Linked DNA regions of Homo sapiens: regions 1 and 2 are each linked to region 3. The links are contacts of gene promoters, found by promoter capture Hi-C in blood cells and fetal thymus (Javierre and others, 2016). All regions are on one chromosome and are shown on one strand. The core of a region is centred on a gene start or on the middle of the fragment in contact, and the rest is flanking DNA. Distances in the headings are between cores, read along the strand shown. Region 1 has its middle 58 kb from the start of MIR9902-1. Region 2 overlaps KNTC1 (kinetochore associated 1). Region 3 holds the start of MPHOSPH9 (M-phase phosphoprotein 9).

Evidence for each region. The method cuts DNA at HindIII sites, captures the fragments that hold promoters and counts their contacts. A CHiCAGO score of 5 or more calls a contact.
Region 1: a fragment that was not itself captured here is called in contact with the fragment with the promoter of MPHOSPH9 in region 3 in 1 of 17 cell types (M2 macrophages); the score reaches 5.0 in M2 macrophages.
Region 2: a fragment that was not itself captured here is called in contact with the fragment with the promoter of MPHOSPH9 in region 3 in 2 of 17 cell types (megakaryocytes and erythroblasts); the score reaches 5.2 in megakaryocytes.

What each region holds. Positions count from the first base shown.
Region 1 is chr12:122,635,469-122,640,076 of GRCh38, forward strand. No RefSeq gene overlaps it. Among named protein-coding and RNA genes, the nearest start is that of MIR9902-1, 58 kb to the right of the region's middle. RefSeq lists a silencer at 2,472-2,541 and an enhancer at 2,609-3,509. The HindIII fragment of the contact is 2,345 bases long and covers 2,171-4,515 here.
Region 2 is chr12:122,529,223-122,533,724 of GRCh38, forward strand. KNTC1 (kinetochore associated 1) reads left to right here. Exons shown (of 64, transcript NM_014708.6): 2 at 769-970. The coding sequence starts at 842. Among named protein-coding and RNA genes, the nearest start is that of KNTC1, 4.2 kb to the left of the region's middle. RefSeq lists an enhancer at 1-60. The HindIII fragment of the contact is 4,966 bases long and covers 728-4,502 here.
Region 3 is chr12:123,231,133-123,236,105 of GRCh38, forward strand. It overlaps MPHOSPH9 (M-phase phosphoprotein 9), which reads right to left and starts at 2,009. Exons shown (of 24, transcript NM_022782.4): 1 at 1,943-2,009. It overlaps MTRFR (mitochondrial translation release factor in rescue), which reads left to right and starts at 2,304. Exons shown (of 3, transcript NM_152269.5): 1 at 2,304-2,399. RefSeq lists an enhancer at 1,782-2,021. The HindIII fragment of the contact is 1,460 bases long and covers 768-2,227 here.

The DNA.
Region 1 (4,608 bases), core at 2,093-4,592, 590 kb before region 3:
GGAATTGTGTGTCAGAAGAAACTGGCTTACCCTCCTGGTGTAGACGGCTTAGCAAGAAGTCAGGGAAGTGCAAAATCAGATTGGACTCTTGGTCGAGGGATTTTCCCTGGAGGATGTGGTTGGAACACTCTAAAAGGGAGAAGAGCAAGAAAAGGCGCAAAGCTGGAACTGTGGGGCAGGGTGAGAGGAGGGAGAAAAGCACGTTGGCACCTTGACACCATAAACAGGTGGTATTTTTAGGCAGGGAAATAACAGAGTGAACTTGATGTTTTTAGGAAGATGAACTTGACAGCTGCGGGTAGGATGAATTGGCTAGAAGGATTGGAGGCACTCCCAGATGAAGAACTATTTAAATTGCCCAGGAAAAATTACATGCATTTATTTCTACTTTTTTTTGGTGCTTATCGCCCATCATTCCTTCTTTTTGAGATTTAAGTGTAAAGGGCTGTTTTGAGCAGCTCTGGATGTTGGTTACTCATTAATCTACTCATTAATCAGCAGAGATTTGTCCATGATGCTAGTTGTTCCATTTCCTTTAGGGGATAATAACCTTGTGTTATGAATTGCACCTTTATCAAATTAAGAGAAAATGAGAAAGCAGCTTTGTGATAACAACTTTGAGACCAACTAAAAGAAAATAGCTGACTGGGCGCAGTGCCTCACGCCTGTAATCCCAGCACTTTGGGAGGCCAAGGTGGGTGGATCGCTAAGTCAGGAGATTGAGTCCATCCTGGCTAACACGGTGAAACCCCGTCCCTACGAAAAAAAAAGAAATTAGCCGGGTGTGGTGGCAGGCGCCTATAGTCTCAGCTACTCGGGAGGCTGAGGCAGGAGAATGGCATGAACCCGAGAGGCAGAGCTTGCAGTGAGCCAAGATCACGCCACTGCACTCCATCCAGCCTGGGCGACAGACCAAGACTCCGTCTCAAAACAAACAAACAAACAAACAAAAAACTATTTGTAAAAATACTTTATGTGGTAGGAACAAAACTTATGTTCATGACGTACTTTTAAACAGAAGTTTTAAAATGGGCCAGATGTGGTGGCTCACGTCTGTAATTCCAGCGCTTTGGGAGGCTGAGGCAGGAGGACTGCTTGAGCCCAGGAATTGGAGACCAGCCTGGCAAACATGGCGAGACCCTGTCTCTACAAATTGTTTTGTTTTGTTTTTTTTGAGATGAAGTCTTGCTCTGTCGCTCAGCGTGAAGTGCAGTGGCGCGTTCTCGGCTCACCGCAACCTCTGCCTCCCGGGTTCAAGCAATTCTCCTGCCTCAGCTTTAAATTAGCTGGGCGTGGCGAAGGCACGGTGGCTCACGCCTGTAATCCCAGCACTTTGGGAGGCCAAGGCGAGCGGATCACAAGGTCAGGAGATTGAGACCATCCTGGCTAACACGCCATGGTGGTGGGCGCCTGTAGTCCCAGCTACTCGGGAGGCTGAGGAGAAGCAGAGGTTGCAGTGAGCCGAGATCGCGCCACTGCACTCCAGCCTGGGCGACAGAAGCGACAGAGCAAGACTCCGTCTCAAAAAAAAAAAAAAAAAAATTAGCCGAGCATGGTGTTGTGCACCTGTAGTCCCAGCTACTTGGGAGGCTGAGGTGGGAGGATCGCTTAAGCCCAGGAGGTCAAGGCTTTAATGAGCTGTGATCATGCCACCACACTCCATCCGGGGCAACAGAGACCCTGTGCCAAAGAAAAAAAGATATGTATGGAAAACACAAACACTTAGGGTGTGATCAGTTCCTCTGGCAGGTTGCATTTTGTTTCTTATTTCTCTGCATCACATGGTTTTATAAAATCATGAGCCTACTGCAGGTACAATTTTTTACTTTGTATTCTTTTCTCTGCCACTATAAACTTTTTAAAATATTATTTTTAGTAATAGTGTTTTTATTTTTAATGATTTTTTATTTTTAATGAAAAGCCATGCAAGCTCAGGTTCTAATTCTGCTTCTGTGTATAGGTTTATGAGTCGGACTGAATTTTGTAATCTCCCTGAGTCCCTTTTCTTATCCATAAAATGGGGATAATATACCCGCTTCAGTGGTTTCTGTGAGGATCAGATGAGATGATAGATGTAGGCAATCCTCAGCCCACAGCAAATCCTCAAAACTCTTAGGTCACCCCCTGGAGCTATTCTGCACACTTAGACTGTGCTAATATATTTTCACTAAGCTTTTTCCATATTTGGAATTATTCCCTTAAGATACATTCCCAGGAACAGATTTGCCAGATCCAAGGGAATGAAGGGAACATTTTAAAGCCTCCAGTTGCAAATTGCCACACTGCATGCATTTCAAAAGGTCTTCCTCACAAATCCCCATTCCCACCAGCAGCGGATGCACGTCCACTTTACTATGTCCTCAAACCATGTTGCTCATCTGATAGGTTAAAACGGCATCTCACTGTTCACATTGGTGTTTCTTTATTTGTGTGATTGAACCTTAAGAGAACCAGTTAGAAGGCTGCAGTCGCAGATGGAGTCTGGAATTGTCCTCTTGGGCGTAAGCGTGCAAGGCCCAGAAGAGGTCAGGTGGTGGCACTAGAACTTAACAGATGTGATGGACTGTCACGCTTCTTTGACTCTGGAGCTAAGCTAAGAAGGAGTGTTTCCAATGCCCACATTGGTTTCTTGTTCAGAATAAAGTTCTGATACATAAAGGGTTAGCTTTCAACATGTTGGAGAAGTCACTTTTTTTGGATCATAACTGTTATTTGAATTTGTTATATTTATTTATTTAGAGACGGAGTCTCACTCTGTCGCCCAGGATGGAGTACAGTGGCGCGATATCAGCTCACTGCAACCTCTCCCTCCTAGGTTCAAATGATTCTCCTGCCTCAGCCTCCCGAGTAGCTGGGATTACAGGAGCCGGCCACCATGCCCAGCTAATTTTGTAATTTTTTTTAGTAGAGACAAGGTTTCACCATGTTGGCCAGGCTGGTCTTGAACTCCTGACCTCAAGTAATCCACCTGCCTTGCCCTCCCAAAGTGCTGGGATTACAGGTGTGAGCCACCTGTGCCCAGCCTGAATTTGTTTTAAAGTAAGATTAAATATACAGTTAGCCAGGATTGGAGCCAGGATGGGGGCCGGGAGTGGTGGCTCATGTCTATAATCCCAGAGCTTCGGGAGGCTGAGGTGGGAGGGTTGCTTGAGCCTAGGAGGTTGAGGCTATAGTGAGCTATGATCGCACCACTGCACTCCAGCCTGGGCGGCAGAGCGAGACCCTGTCTCTAAAAAAGAAAAAAGAACAGAAAAAACAGCAAGGTTCCTTCTTGTCATTGTTCTATTTATTATATTTCTATTAGCTGTGATTGCCATCATTATTTTTATTATTCTACCCTTGTCTCCATACAGTTATTTTCCATACTGTTGCCTAAGTATATTCTTAAAACATAAGCCGGATCTTGTCCGTGGCTGGCCTCAAACTTTTCACTGGCTTCTCATTTCACTAAGCATAAAACCCAAGTTGCAGAAAACACTTCCCTTCTGTTCGAATTAGAAGCAGGGGTCATCTCCAGGAAAATGGATTATAAAAAGCCCCTCCTTTGGGCAGATCTAACATAAAAAGACACCCCCTTGGGTAAGGTCAAAGTTTTTTAAAAGCGCTGGATTTAAAAGCTGGATTTCGTTTATGGCTCGGTGCTGCCTGCCTGTCCATACCGTGGCTTATAAGGTCGGTAAGATCTAGGCCCAGTCTGCCTTTCCAGCCTCAACCCCTGCCACTCCTGCCATATCTCAGACCAGCCTTCTCTCTAGCCTTACCCGACCAGCCCAGCTAGTCACCATCCCACATCCCCAGTCCCTTGCTGTGACGTCACTCTATTCACTGTCTTCCTGCTGCCATCCAGGGTTATCTTTATTTACTTGTTTATTGACTAGCTCACTGGAATATTGGCCGGGCGCGGTGGCTCACACCTGTAATCCCAGCACTTTGGGAGGCCGAGGCGGGTGGATCACCTCAGGTCGGGAGTTCGAGACCAGCCTGGCCAACATGGTGAAACACTGTCTCTACTAAAAATACCAAAACTAGCCGGGTGTGCTGGCGCACGCCTATAATCCCAGCTACTAGGGAGGCTGAGGCAGGAGAATTGTTTGAACCCGGGGGTCACAGGTTGCAGTGAGCTGAGATCATGCCACTTCACTCCAGCCTGGGCGAAAGAGCAAAACTCTGTCTCAAAAAAATATATATATTTCTACTAAAATAATATATGTTGAAAGATATTGGGAGTATGTGCTCAAAAGTTTCCACTGAGGAGCATGCAAAAAAACCTTGGGGTCACTGGTCTCTTCTTCCTGGGACACCAGCATTGCATGAAAAAGAAACTATTACCCTAAGCACGTCTTTATACTTATGTGGCTACCCCCATCTGGATAGAAACAATCAACAAAATTATTCAGTCTTATTCTCTTACTCAAAAATAACTTAAAAACTACCCAAGGGAGGGATCCAATGTGTTTATTTAAGCACAGATAATGTATTCCAAATCTCTGGGCCCAAGGAGAAACAGCAGAAAGAAGCTTGAATATCTTCTGTCTCACTGAGCCAGGTTTTCCATCACCACAAAGTGGAATGAGAACACCCCACTAATTCATTCTCTACTCCGAATAG
Region 2 (4,502 bases), core at 1,961-4,460, 700 kb before region 3:
TCATTGTGAAAGAGCACCAAGTCAGAAATTGTTTCTACCTTGTGCTATACCTTTTATAGATATTGAAACATACTTCTAGTAGCACTTATGAAACCAATTGTAATTATTTGATTATCATTCCCTACCAGTCTTGATCCAAGGATTGTTTTTATCCTTAGTGTTCTTTTCCCACCCAGACTCCAGGTAATATGGTTTATGTAAACCTTTGCTTTTTGAGATGGGTAAACCTCATAAGGTTTCAAGCTTAGTCTTTGATCCAGAAACCTAATTCATTTTTTTCTCCTCCCCTTATCATTTTTATTTGTTGTATAATAATACTATGATAGCATCAATGGACTTTTTCTGAACTTCATCTGGAATCTTATCATCCTATGATATCCCTGACAATCTGGCATCTAAACCTACACTGTTTGCTGCTATTAAAGGTTTATTTCTAATGAAAGGTTTATTTCTAATGAAAACTTGGTATAATTAAAGGTTTATTTCTAATGAAAACTTGGTATAATTCCAAACTAGACACACAAAGTAATGGAAGCTCTAAGATACATTGGTAAGATCAGAATTGTTGGTTTGTGTGCATAAACCAATATGTTGTTCTCTGGTAACCATCATAGCTCTAGTTCCATTTATGTTATTGGCCCGAAGTGTTTAGTGGCCACAGCAATAACAAGAAGACTAAGATGTCTGTATATGTTAATGTTAGACTTTTGTTTTTGTTTTGTGAGTAAGCTTTATCATTTCCCAAGGAACCAGGTTCTATGCAACAAGATAATATGGTGTCTAATTTTATGTTGTTCAGGAAAGACAGTGGTTCCTGACTCAGGAAGACAGTCTCAGAAACATGTGGAATGATATTGAGCTGCTAACAAATGATGATACCGGAAGTGGGTACCTGAGTGTCGGTTCAAGAAAAGAACATGGAACTGCTTTATATCAAGTAGATTTGCTAGTGAAGATCTCTTCTGAAAAGGTAGTGATTATTACACTGACTGTTTCATTCACAGAATTTTTACTGAGTGCTTAGTAGGGCTAGTGGCCCACAGTAAATATTTTGTGAATGAACATAGCACTTCCTCAGGGAATCAAGATTCAATCTCAGATTGCTAGAAATTCACGTCTGAATACCCTCTGCATCATGTCAGGATCAGTATTTTCACAACTGAAGGATTCTTAGTTCCTCTTGATATTTCATGCATACAAAAATATGTGTAAGTTGATACAAAGGATATCTTTTTTTTTTTTTTTTGAGACAGATTCTTACTCTGTCACCCAGGCTGGAGTGCAGTGGTGTGATCACGGCTCACTGCAATCTCTGACTCCCAGATTCAAGTGATTCTCGTGCCTCAGCCTCCCAAGTAGCTGAGATTACAGTTGTGTGCCACCATGCTCAGCTAATTTTTTGTATTTTTGTAAAGATGGGGTTTCTCCATGTTGGCCAGGCTGGTCTTGAACTCCTGGCCTCAAGAAATCCACCCACCTCAGCCTCCCAAAGTGCTGGGATTACAGGTGTGAGCCATCACTCCCGGCATACAAAGAATATCTACGACTGACTTAGGAAATAAAATGTTACAAATAGAGTTGAAGGCTCTGAGGGTCCATCCCTGAATCTGTGTTCCTCCTGTTTCCTACCAGAGTCAAGCACCCTGCTGAGTATGAGGTTTATCCGTGCATTTCTTTCTACATTTTAACTTTCTTCTGTCAGTAATTGCACCATTCTTGCTTCATGCCTGAAACCTTATTCTTTGCATTCTATAGAAGGTACTATTAGCTGGGTGTGGTGGCATGCACATGTAGTCCCAGCTACTTGGGAGGCTGGTATTTAATTCTTTTTTTTTTTTAATAAAAGAAATTTTTTTTCACTCAAATGGAATCTGACAGATAAGGCAGGGCATCCACTGTGGACGTTATTCCTAAAGGGAATTAAATGTATGCTTTTGACTTTTTTTTTTAAACTGGCTGATGGGATTTTAAAAAGAAATCATTCTTTATGCAGCTTTAAGCTGGTGTCTGTGGAACTGTGCTGCTTTTTCTTGCTGTGGTGCTATCTCGGCTCGGCTCACTGCAACCTCTGCCTCCTGGGTTCAAAAAATTCTCCTGTCTCAATTTCCCAAGTAGCTGGGATTACAGGTGTGTGCCACCATGCTACTAAAAATTTTCGTATTTTTAGTAGAGATGGGGTTGCCCAGGCTGGTCTTGAACTCCTGGCCTCAAGTGATCCGCCTGCCTTGGCCTCCCAAAGTGCTGGGATTAAAGGCATGAGTCACTGTGCCTGATTTGTACCGCTTTAAATGTACCATGAATCATGTTAAAGGCAGTATAATCCAACAATAAGATAATTAGTATAAGATAAACATTAATTATGAGTAGTACAAATCTCATTGTATTTTTTGTCATTATTTATTAGAGGCAAAAATTTCAAGTGCAGCATTTCTTTTTTTTAAATTTTTTGAATCCTTCGAGACATCTGAAAGCACAGTTTCTATAATGAGGAAATGACGTCTATTTTTTAGTATTTTTGTTCGTTTGTTTGAGATGGAGTCTTGCTCTGTCGCCCAGGCTGGAGTACAGTGGCATGATCTCAGCTCACTGCAAGCTCTGCCTCCCAGGTTCACGCCATTCTCCTGCCTCAGCCTCTCAAGTAGCTGGGACTACAGGCGCCCGCCACTATGCCCAGCTAATTTTTTGTATTTTTAGTAGAGACGGGGTTTCACCATGTTAGCCAGGATGGTCTCGATCTCCTGACCTCGTGATCCGCCCGGCTCGGCCTCCCAAAGTGCTGGGATTACAGGCTTGAGCCACCGCACCCGGCCATTTGTTTTTTTTTTTTTTAAGAGAGACTCTCACTCTGTAGCCCAGGCTGGAGTACAGTGATGTGATATTGACTCATTACAACCTCCCACTCCTGGATTCAAGTGATTCTCCTGCCTCAGCCTCTGGAGTAGCTGGGATTATAGGCGCCTGCCACCACGCCTGGCTAATTTTTCTTTTTTTTTTTTTTTTTTTTTGAGACGAACTCTTGCTCTGTCACCAGGCTGGAGTGCAGTGGCGTGATCTTGGCTCATTGCAACCTCCGCCTCCTGGGTTCAAGCGATTCTTCTGCCTCACCCTCCCGAGTAACTGGGAATACAGACACGAGCCACCACACCCAGCTAATTTTTGTGTTTTTAGTAGAGATGAGGCTTCACCATGTTGAGCAGGATGGTCTCGATCTCTTGACCTTGTGATCCACCCACCTCGGCCTCCCAAAGTTCTGGGATTACAGGTGTGAATCACTGTGCCCGGGCTTTATTTTTTAATATTATCAGGAGCCTTAAAACGTGGAAGTGGCTCAGGCCTTTCTTGACCTCAAGGTTGCTGTTGAAAAATAATAGTGCATGTGTATAGAATCTTGGATTCTGGTAGGAACTAAAATTCTATCTATTATTAGCACGTGGCATACACTTACCAACATGTTTTGAACATCTGCTATGTTCTGAGCCCAATATTAGGAACTTGGACATAAGATGGCATCTTATTCATTCCTTTTAGGATCTTACCTTAAAGTTAGGCACACAGGACACAAACAATAAAAGATGCTTAGCTGTGCAAGTCAGTATATGCTAAATGCCAAATGAACAGTACAGACAGTAAATGAGTAGGAATTCAGTGGCTGGAGAGCTCATTGTCGGTTGGGCAGTTTAAGGAGCATTTCCTTAAGAAACTATGTGTGAGCCCGGTGTGGTGGCATGTCCTGTAGTCCCAGCTACTCAGGCTGAGGCAGGAGAATGGCGTGAGCCCAGGAGTTTGAGGCCAGCCTGGGCAACATAGGGAGACAACATCTCTAAAAAAAATAAAAATTAAAATAAACTACACTTGCTTTGGGCCTTAAGAAGGAGAACAGTCTAGAGAGAAGAGTCTAGAGAGAACAGTGTGGACAGATCCCTAGAAGATATAGTGCCGTTCCTTTTCTTTTTTTTTTTTTTGAGGCAGAGTCTTGCTCTGTTGCCCAGGCTGGAGTGCAGTGGTGTGATCTTGGCTCACTGCAACCTCTGCCTCTCGGGTTCAAGTGATTCTCGTGCCTCAGCCTCCCCAGTAGCTGGGATTACATGCGTCCGCCACCACGCCCGGCTAATTTTAGTGCCATTCCTTGTTGGCAGTGCCTTCATGTAACCTTTTACTAGTTGAAGAAGCAAGTAAAAAGATAAGAAGGAGGCTGGGCGCAGTGCCTCACATTTGTATTCCCGGCACTTTGGGTGGTTGGGATGGAAGGATCGTTTGAGTCCAGGAGTTCTAGACCAGCCTGGCCAACACAGTGAAAACCCCGTCTCTATAAAAGAAAAAGAAAATTAGCCAGGTGTGATGGTGTGCATGTGTAGTCCCAGCTACTTGGGTTGGGGAGGCACGAAGATCCCTTGAGCCCAGGTGTTTAAGGCTGCAGTGAGTTATGATGGCATCACTGCATTCCAACCTGAGCGACAGAGGGAGACCCTGTCTCAAAATAAAGAAAAAAATAAGGTAGAAGA
Region 3 (4,973 bases), core at 759-3,258:
TTATATGTTTAATAATCAAGGTTCTTTTTTTTAGAGACAGCATCTTGCTATGTTGCCCAGGCTGGTCTACAACTCCTGGCCTCAAGTGCTCAGCCTCCCGAGCAGCTGGGATTATAGCGCAAACCATTTTGCCAGGCTTTACAATGAAAGTTCTAGATATAATTCTATTATGTAACAATTGGAATACTTGCATGCCTTGTTCATTTGTTTAATAAATTCTACCAAGTATATATGTTTGTTGACTTATACAGAGACAAGAAGAACTGAACTACTTAATATTTAATTTGTATTAAAAAGAGCCAATTAAACTGTTAACAACCATAGCTTCCCCATTGTCTGGAAGTACATTTTGAACTATATATATGGTCTTTTGTCTCTGTGCAGCTATTCTTAGAAAATAAACCACTGGGCACACTGGAGCCTGCCTGCAGCTACTGGGAGCATGTCCCAGCTACTCTGGAGGCTGAGGTGGGAGGATCACTTCAGCCCAGGAGTTCAAGACTGCAGTGAGCTATGATCCTGCCACTGCACTCCAGCTTGGGCAACAGACCAAGACCCCATCTCTTAAAAAATAAAAATAAAAATAAAAAAATTATTTGCCAGGCCAACTAAAATTTCAGTGAAGCTGGATATATACCATGGCAAATTGGCTGTAACAGGTCAAACAAGATGCCTCCTTCCTGGGGAATTCATGCACTTATAAAAGAGCAAGGGAGCAAGAGGAAAAAGGAGAAAGAAAGAAAACTTCAGCTGCTTACAAACTGAAAAGCTTAGAGAGTGCAACAGGAATATTATCTAGTATTCCGCTTCTGCTAGATTCCCACTTTCTAGGGCCTGCTTTTATAAAGCATTACACAAAAACAGGGACCATTTCCTTCAGGGACAGGAGTGAATGCAAAGGGTAACCGGACCTAACTAAATGGACTTTTCCCCAGTGGCTCAGCCCATCACCCACGACAAATGGGGCATTGAAACAGTCAAGGACTGCCCCTTCCAACTGGCAACAGAAATACCTGGATTCCAATCACCATGCTATTACACCAGGAAAACACAAGCTCTCCAGGGAGATGAACCTGCAACCCCATCTATTATTTCCCCTGCTAAGGTAATCCGGATCCGGATGCAGATCCAGATGGAAAACCACTAGAAATTCAAAGATGCTTCTCCATTTGGGGTGGAGGTGCTGGGGGGAGGGCAGGGAAGTAAGAGGGAAAAATCCTTAAACACCCACAAATACAATGCAAAAAAAAATTTTTTTAACTTGATACAGAATGAATATAAGAGCAGAGCTTTTATATTTCCCAGCAACAAGATATGACGCTTTTGGTGTCCCTACCCCCTAGCAAAAAAAGGGAGCTGGGGAAAAGGAACGATTGATGGTTATGAAACATGAAAGTTAACTGGGCGCTCCGCCTTGACGGGAGGCTTGGGGGAGAGGAAGAGATTTCAGATGGGGATGAGGCCAGATCCCGACATTCTGAGCTCACAGTCAGCCCGCAATGGCTGGTGGCGGCTATCGGGTCAAAGTGGGAAGGAGAGGGAGAATCTATGCAGTCGCCTAAGCTACGGAAAGCAGGGAGGACGGAGAAAAGCCACCGCTCCTGCAACTACAACCGCGATTCCAAAAGGAAACCGGGGCACCTTGGCAAAAAATGGGGGGAAAAATTAAAAAAACCCCACAAACCCCCCGCCCCTCAGGAAGAGCGATCTGCGATTGGGCCGCGCGAGTGTCACTCAAGGGCGCCGAGTCTAGAAAAGGCGCACCGCGGCCGGGCAGAGCTCCCACACGCCGAAGGGCTCCGAGGGGGTCAGGCCAATCGGCAGCCGTCACCCCACACCCCAGCCCATCACCACACTCAAGGGGCCGCTAAGACAGTGTCTCCTAAGTCTCGTCTCCTGTCCCCAGCGGCCTACAGCTCCCTGCAGGCTGGTGGCCGCTTACCTGGCCGCCGCTCCCGCTGCCGATGTCAGGGTCATGCAAGCGGCCTCTCGCGACCGTTACCCGAGGGAGCGCGCGCGCGCCCGGCGTCTCTCCAGTGATTGGCTGCCCGGAAGGAGGCGGAGACAGCCTCGCATGGCGCGCGCGTCCACCTCGCCGTTCCCCCTCGCGCAGCTCCAACCAAAGAGAGACATCCAACCCCGGGGGAGTGACAAGGGGGCGGGATTGCTGTGAAACTCTCTTCTCTGATTGGCTCTCTGGGAGCCAGCCGCTGCCACGAGGGAAAGAAGCTTCAGTTTCTCGCATGCGCAGTGAGTAAACATGAGCCTCTGGTAGATAAGAGAAACCGCGATCGGAGTACGGCGCGTGCGCAGATCAGGGATCGCGATTGCGAATCCTCCGCTGAGGTGATTTGGATATCCCTAGAACGTTGAGGGCACGAGTCGGGTCCTGAGACCAGGTAAGCATCTGCGGAGAAGCCAGGTAACCCTACGGCTGCCGACGACTGTCAAAGGCTCCGGAGAGAGGACTGCGAGCCGGGACGCCTGGGTTTTTCCCGACTTGCGACCCCGAGTGGCGCAGCCAGTTTACCTGAGGCCGCGCTGGCGGTGGGGTGGGGCCGGCCGTGACACCCGAGCTCAGTTTTCTCGGGACCTGGTTTACGCTAGGTGCTGTGGGTCGGCCCTGGGGCTGTTCAGGCACTCAGGGCAGGGGAGAGGAGAGACTACCGTCCTGGAGATAACGGTTCCACGGAGGCCCAAGGCGAAACGGAAGGATCCTCATGTACAAAACTGAGCGGAATGGAGCTGTGAGCACGCATCAGGTGCTGTTTCAGGCCTGGCACGTAGTAGAGGTCAGCACTGCCCTTGCTAGGCTTTTGCGGAGATACTCGTTTTTTTTTTAATAGACGTGGGGTGGGGGGGTCTCACTGTGTTGCCCAAGCTGATCTCGAACTCCTGGCCTCAAGCGATCCTCCTTCCTCGGCCTCCCAAAGTGCTGGGATCACAGGCGCAAGCCACCCAGCCCTACTTTTGAAGGACCAAAGGGAACTCGCTCTCCTCCCCGTGGGACCCCAGCCCATTTCATGCGCACTGTGCAGGCCACATTCTTCAGCATAGTTAACCTTTAAGGTCTTTCCAGCTACTCGATTTACCTCCAGGAGTTCTGGCTCACAGTAAAGGGACTTCCCTGGCACTATCACTTAGGCCTCCACAACCCAGGAAATGGATCTGCCCTTGGAATAACAGATCTGCCAGGAGGCGTTACATCTCATTGGAGCTTCCTAAGTATACCTACCAATTTTTTTTTACTTTTTTTATTTTTGTGGGGGAGGGGGGTAGGGGGGACAAGGTCTCTCTCTGTCACCCAGGCTGGAGGGCAGTGGCGCGATCTCGGCTCACTTTAACCTCTGCCTCCCGGGTTCAAGTGATTCTTCTGCTTCAGCCTCCCGAGTAGCCGGGAATACCGGTGCCCGCCACCACATCCGGCTAATTTTTTGTATTTTTAGTAGAGACGGGGTTTTGCCATATTGGCCAGGCTGGTCTCGAATTCCTGACCTCAGGTCATCCTCCTGCCTCGGCCACCCAAAGTGCTGGGATTACAGGCATGAGCCACCACGCCTGGCAATTTTCAAAGGGTAAATTTGATGTTATCCTATCTTTCATGATTTTTTAAATTATATTACATAATTCCAAAAGATATTTTATGTTTAAACCAGGACTTACTTCATTGAAGATGGTTTTATCTTTCAGTGTGAACCTGCTGGGAAGTCAGGCTATATTTTTGGCATCACAGTGATCTCCTTAGTACCTGATTTCACAGACCAGAATTATGATCCCACCAAATAACATGTTTTCAGTAATGTCATGGCTTATCAAGTACTTCTTAAATTGGACCATACCAAGTAAAATAATTTACAAGCCACTGTTGTAGATGCCTTTTCACCCTAAGCTCTAAAACAAAGGCCGATGAAATAATCAGTTCCCAGACTGGGTTTGTGTCATAAGACAACAGTGTATGTGGTGTGTCATTCCAAAGTTCCTCAGCCTTGTAGTTGAGAGATCTGACATGCTCCCATTTAGTGACCACTAAGTACTTTACATTTATGGCAACATGTATGATTTTGTTCGCACTCTAGGTAGTAGTATCTCCATTCTACAGATGAGGAATTAGAGCCAAAGTTACCCAGTAAGTAAATTGTGGCATTGAGACATTGAACGCAGGTCTGTTGGCCACAGAGCTCGCAATCCTTGGCAGGAAGGCCTTTTTGGGACAAAAGAAAAAATGAGAGGAGTCGTCAAATACAGAAAGTCAGGCTGGTCCAAACGTAGTGAGTTTTGTGTGTGTGTGTGTGACAGAGCTCAGCTCACTGCAAGCTCCGCCCCCCAGGTTCACGCCATTCTCCTGCCTTAGCCTCCCTAGTAGCTGAGACTACAGGTGCCTGCCACCAGGCCCAGCTAATTTTTTTTTTTTTTGTATTTTTAGTAGAGATGGGGTTTCACCGTGTTAGCCAGGTTGGTCTCGATCTCCTGACCTCATGATCCACCTGCCTCGGCCTCCCACGGTGCTGGGATTACAGGCGTGAGCCACCGCGCTCGGCCTGGTAGTGAGTTATCTTAATTAATTGTTCACAGTCACAGATCAAACTTCTTGTTCTACTCTTTCCCCCTTCTCTACTGTACTTGACTAGTCTTTTTAAAAAGAGAAAGTTGGCCGGGCGTGGTGGCTCATGCCTGTACTCCCAGCACTTCGGGAGGCCGAGGCAAGCGGATCGCTTGAGGTCAGGAGTTCGAGACCAGCCTGGCCAACATGGTGAAACCCCATCTGGGCTAAGAATACAAAAATTAGCTGGGCGTGGTGGCTGGTGCCTATAATCCCAGCTACTTGGGAGGCTGAAGCAGGAGAATCGCTGGAACCCGGGAGGCAAAGGTTGTAGTGAGCCAAGATGGTGCCACTGCACTCCAGCCTGGGCAACAGAGTGAGACTCGTCTCAAAAAAATAAATAAATAAAAACTTAAAACAGAAAAAGTTAAGG